Regions from separate parts of the Homo sapiens genome. Here region 1 is linked to region 2. Evidence: promoter capture Hi-C in human tissues and cell types (Jung and others, 2019). All regions are on one chromosome and are shown on one strand. Each heading gives the region's core, a stretch centred on a gene start or on the middle of the fragment in contact. The rest is flanking DNA. Distances are from core to core; before and after follow the strand shown. Region 1 overlaps ELSPBP1 (epididymal sperm binding protein 1). Region 2 holds the start of PLA2G4C (phospholipase A2 group IVC).

What was found. The method cuts DNA at HindIII sites, captures the fragments that hold promoters and counts their contacts. A contact is called where the count stands out against the background at its distance.
Region 1: a fragment that was not itself captured here is called in contact with the fragment with the promoter of PLA2G4C in region 2 in 6 of the 25 tissues and cell types used here (H1 embryonic stem cells, liver, lymphoblastoid cells and 3 more).

The regions. Positions count from the first base shown.
Region 1 is chr19:48,007,645-48,010,591 of GRCh38, forward strand. ELSPBP1 (epididymal sperm binding protein 1) reads left to right here. Exons shown (of 7, transcript NM_022142.5): 2 at 1,007-1,093. The coding sequence starts at 1,024. Among named protein-coding and RNA genes, the nearest start is that of ELSPBP1, 14 kb to the left of the region's middle. The HindIII fragment of the contact is 4,775 bases long and covers 1-2,947 here.
Region 2 is chr19:48,109,527-48,112,226 of GRCh38, forward strand. It overlaps PLA2G4C (phospholipase A2 group IVC), which reads right to left and starts at 1,291. Exons shown (of 17, transcript NM_003706.3): 1 at 961-1,291. RefSeq lists an enhancer at 1,107-1,266. The HindIII fragment of the contact is 42,556 bases long and covers 1-2,700 here.

The DNA.
Region 1 (2,947 bases), core at 135-2,634, 100 kb before region 2:
GAGGACGGTAAATGCTAATCACTGAAGGACTTTCGTCTCCAGCTAAGGAGATGAGTGTGATTCATGGGGAGGATTTAAGGCTATTGTTAAGGTTCCAACAATGAGAAGGGCCCTTGCAGCCATTAATATGGGTTAGAACCCAGACCCTGCCCTTTCCTCCCTGGGTGACCAATCCAGGTCTGAGTGTTAGTTTCTGCATCTATAAAATGGGGGTTAAAACATGTATTACTTGATTTATGAAAGCCAAGTGACATAAAGTGTGTTGAACATCGAGCCTGGAGTACAGTAAGTGTTCAACAAGTGTTTCATTTTTTTCTTTCCATCACACTTTCCTAAGGACAGTACATGACAGTAGAGTTATGCATCAGGAATACAGTCTGAGAAGTGCATTGTTAGGCAATGTCGTCCTTGTGTGAGCATCATAGAGTGTACTCACACGAACCTAGATGGTAGTGCCTGCTACACACCTGGGCTATATGATACAGCCTGTGCTTCCAGGCTACAAACCTGTACATACACACATGTAGAAACACACACACATATCACACACACATATGTAGAAACATATGTGTGTGTGTGGTATATGTGTGTGTATGTGTGTATTTAGAGATAGGGTCTCACTCTGTTACTGAGGCTATAGTACAGTGGCACAATCATAGCTCACTGCAGCCTTGACCTCCTGGGCTCAAGTGATCCTCTTGCCTCAGCCTCCTGAATAGCTGGGACCACAGGCATACACCACCATGCCTGGCTAATTTAAATGAAAATTTTGTAGAGGTGGGGTCTCACTATGTTGTCCAGGCTGGTCTTGAACTTCTGGCTTTAAGCGATCCTTTGTCTTGGTCTCCCAAAATGCTGGGATTACAGGTGTGAGCTACCATGCCTGGTCTATTTTTTAAATTACTGTGGATGGAAAGAAAAATGGCATGTATGACGTCAAATCTAGGAGGTAATGGGAAGAGGAAGGGGACGTGTGGGATGAAAATTTTTGTCTTCTTTTCCACAGAGAAGAGGGCAGCCAAGATGACCCGATGGTCCAGTTACCTGTTGGGATGGACAACCTTCCTTCTCTATTCCTATGAGTCAAGTGGAGGTAAGGACACTCAAAGCAACAGGGAGGATTTAGAAGCTGGAGAAGAATGAATGGGGCAAAGCAAAGATTCCTGGAACTAAGTAGGCAGGAGATGGCTTAGCAAAAATCTCAGAAGAAGCTGGGCGCGGTGGCTGACACCTGTAATCCCAGCACTTTGCAGGGCTGAGGCAGGCAGATCACTTGAGGTCAGGAGTTCCAGAGCAGCCTGCCCAACATGGTGAAACCCCATCTCTACTAAAAATACAAAAATTAGCCAGGCATGGTGGTGAGCGCCTGTAATCCCAGCTACTTGGGAGGCTGAGGCAGGAGAATCGCTTGAACCCAGGAGGTGGAGGTTGCAGTGAGCCGAGATCGTACCACTGAACTCCAGACTGGGAGACAAGAGCAAAACTCCCTCTCAAAAAAAAAAAAAAAAAATCTCAGAAGACCTGGGGTTTGGACCCTGGATCTGCCACTTCTTTTCTTGGTAACTTTGGTCAAGCAACATAAGCTCTCTGAAGTCAATTTCCAGACTGTAAAAGAGAAGTAACGGCATTTATCTCACGGGGTTATTTTGAAGATCAAATAAAATAATGGGCACCAGCATCTTTCATAATGCTCAGCACATGGTGGGGGTAAAAGGCAGGCTATATAATTCCAGTGAACAGAACCTTCAGACCCCAACCTGGACAACCTAATTATATCTTAATATATCTCAGAATCTAAATTAACCACTAAAAGACTGTAAGGTAAGCATGGAAACAGAACAAGAGGAAACCTTGCTTACATGTCATTCACTCAAGCCTTGGTGAGTCATTCTTCACAATTAGAATCCTTTTCTGCCTGATAAATCGTTCTCCTCTGGATAAGGCTCAGGAACCATTTGCATATTGATGCACCTTGATCCCACATTCTTTATTCCAGAGATTCCTAACCTGGGGTCATTGAGTGAGGATTAGAGTCCATGAAAACTGGAATTTACGTTTTAAAAAAAGTGTGTATTTATGAGGGTAGTGAGAATAGCTATTGTAACAAACAAAATCCAAACTATCAGCTGCTTGACACAATAACATTTTTTTTTTCTTGGTTCTGCAAAATCCCAGAAGGGTGCATCTGGTCAGGAAACAATGCTCCACATGGTCATTCAGGGATCCAAGCTTCTTACATCCTGGAGCCCCAACATCCCCTACGGTTTCAGAGTCTGCTGAGGTTTCTTTGCTTTTAGCTTGTAGACAAGTATCAAGAGAGTCTGGAGGACCTTGGAGGAGAGGGTTTTTTGTTTGTTTGTTTTCTTTTGGCCAGGACAGGAAGTGACATTCATCCCTTTCTCCTGCTTCCACTGGCCAAAACTGATATGGCTCTTAACTGCAAGCAAGTCTGGGAGATGCAGTGTAGCAGTGCATTTGGGAGGAAAGTGAAACTGATTTCGGTGAACACACAGCCATCTCAACCATAAGGGCATATGAATATTCTCCTAGAGAGAAGTTCTGGGTTCTCAAAGAACTGACAAATTCCTGAAAGTTTAGGAACTCACAGTTTATTCAGACAAGGAACAATGTACTTGATGGGGTATCCACTTTTCTAGTTATAATCTCATTTTTGTCATGCCTCCCTGAGACCACACCCACATACTTGTGGTGAAACTCAGTATTCCAAGTTCCCTTTGCGTGTATTTACAGATAAATTATTCAGTATACACTTACTGAGTGATCTTTAAGTTCCAGACATTGTGTTATGGACCAGAAGTGCAGAAATAAACAAAACCTAAACCCTCCACTCAGAGAGTTCACAGTAATCGGGAGTTATAGACACATAAATGAATTATTTTTAAAAAATTGGCAACTGCATTCATTTATAGAGATTGACTCTGAGTAT
Region 2 (2,700 bases), core at 41-2,540:
TTCCCAAAACGCTGGGATTATAGGCATGAGTCATCGCACTCGGCCAGACATAGGCTCTTAAAGGGGTGACTAAGTTAAAGTGGGGTCCTGAGGGTGGCCTGGAATTTGGTTTGATTGGTTTATTTTATTTTATTTTTTTTTGAGATGGAGTCTCGCTTTGTGCCCTAGGCTGGAGTGCAGTGGCGCAGTCTCGGCTCACTGCAAGCTCCGCCTTCCGGGCTCACGCCATTCTCCTGCCTCAGCCTCCGGAGTAGCTGGGACTACAGGCGCCCGCCACCACGCCCAGCTAATTTTTTGTATTTTTAGTTGAGACGGGGTTTCACTGTGTTAGCCAGGATGATCTCGATCTCCTGACCTCAGGATCCGCCCGCCTCGTCTTCCCAAAGGGCTGGGATTACAGGCGTGAGCCACCGCGCCCAGCCTGATTGGTTTTATAAGGAGAGATTAGGGCCTCTGCAAGAGGCTTCAGGAGAAACCAACCCTGCCAACACCTTGATCTTGGACTTCTAGCTTCCAGAAGTGTTAGAAAATAAATTCCTAGCCGGGCGCGGTGGCTCACGCCTGTAATCCCAGCACTTTGGAAGGCCGAGTGGGGTGGATCACGAGTTCAGGAGTTTGAGACCAGCCTGGCCAACATGGTGAAACCCCATCTCTACTAAAAATACAAAAATTAGCCGGGTGTGGTGGTGTGCGCCTGTAATCCCAGCTACTCGGGAGGTTGAGGCAGGAGAATCGCTTGAACCCCGGAGGCGGAGCTTGCCGTGAGCCGAGATCGCGTCACTGCACTCCAGCCTAGGCGACAGAGCGAGATGCTGTCTCAAAAAAAAATAAATAAATAAATAAAATAAAATAAAATAAAAAAGAAAAAGAAATCCTGTTATTTAATTGCACCCAATCCCTGGTACTTGGTTATGGCCGCCCCAGCGGGATGAAACAGCCCTCCCTGCCCCCACGGCTTGCCTGAGCCTGGGTCTGGGGCGTGTGCGCATGCGCGGTGGAGCTTGTGCTCCGGAATCCGGTGCGGAGGCTTGGGCTCCCTGCGCTTAGCGGTGTAGTCGCTGGACAGCTCCTTCAGCCGGAATCTCCGCGGGTGAAGACTGCGGGGATCCTCGGTGCCAAAGCTTCTGTGGTCCTCCTGCTTTCCTTTTCCCCCTGTGGGAGGAGGTCGCGGGCTGGAGGTGTTTCCTCCTGGTCCTGAGCAGGGCCAACCTGGAGGTAAAATGGCCCCTGCGCCTTTAAACAGCCCTCCTCGGCTTGTAGGCCCTGCTTGGTTGCTCCAGCTTTTTCAGCTGTTCCAGAGCTCACCCGGAGCTATTTTCATCCGTGGGATCACGTGGAGGGCTGGGACTTTCCAGGCTTCCTTAGTGATGTCACCCTTCTGTCATTAGGCACCCGAGACCAGTATTCAAAAAAAGAATGTTGTCGTTATATAACTATATTGGAGATAAGTATTCCTCAAAACAGATTAGCTAATCCTCCTATGCATCTGGCTGTCTAATAACCATCATATATAATATCATACTCAAATACCCAGAAAAAGAAATATTGAGGCCAGGCGTGGTGGCTTACGCCTGTAATCCTAGCACTTTGGGAGGCTGAGGCAGGCGGATCATGTGAAGTCAGGAGTTCGAGACCAGCCTGGCCAACATGGTGAAACACCTTCTCTACTAAAAATACAAAAATTAGCTCGGTATGGTGGCGTGTGCCTGTAATCCCAGCTACTACTCGGGAGGCTGAGGCAGGTGCTTCATCCTGGGAGGTGGAGGTTGCAGTGAGCCAGATCCTTAGGGCCAACTCTGGTTCATTTAATGTCCATTTTTAGAAAACCTGTGAGCTCCATTCACAGTGAAGGTTTGAAGCCCAGAAGTGGCCTCCCAACAGGGTACCACATTTCCCAGCACCTTTGCAGCTAGGTGTGGTCATGTGAGCGAGTTATGTGGTCATGTGACCGAGTTCCAGTCAGTGCAATCGGGCATCTGTGGGGAGCACCGCTTCCAAGAGTGGCTCCTAGAAACCTCCCATACTACCCTCCTGCCTACTCTTCCTGAAGCCCAGCACTAAGCGTCATCCCAACTCGATGGGTTTTGAATTTTTTTTTTTTTTTTTTGAGATGGAGTCTTACTCTTTGTCGCCCAGGCTGGTGTGCAGTGGTGCAATCTCGGCTCACTGCAACCTCCGTCTCCTGGGTTCAAGCGATTCTCCTACCTCAGCCTCCCGAGTAGCTGGGAACATAGGCATCTGCCACCACGCCCGGCTAATTATTTTTGTATTTTTAGTAGAGACAGGGTTTCACCATGTTGGCCAGGCTGGCTCGAACTGCTGAACTCAAGTGATCCACCTGCCTCGGCTTCCCAAAGTGCTGGGATTACAGTTGCGAGCCACCGCACCCAGCTTGAATTCTTATTTTTTAAAAATAGATATGAGGCCATAATCCTAGCACTTTGGGAGGCCAAGGCAGGAGTATCACCAATTTTAGAACAGGATTTCACCAGGGGGAAGATGGTCTCCCCTGCTCCCCCTAACGCCAGGCTCACCTCTTCAGTGCCCGCAACTCCAACCATCGCAGGATCTTTTCACTCCTAGACCTGACCATGCCACTGCCCCGCCTGCGGGATAAGGTTCTACACCTCGCAGGAGCTCATGAGGCTCTCCACAGTATAGTTAGTAGTTATAGATGCAGGGTCAAGGAGCTGACAGCAT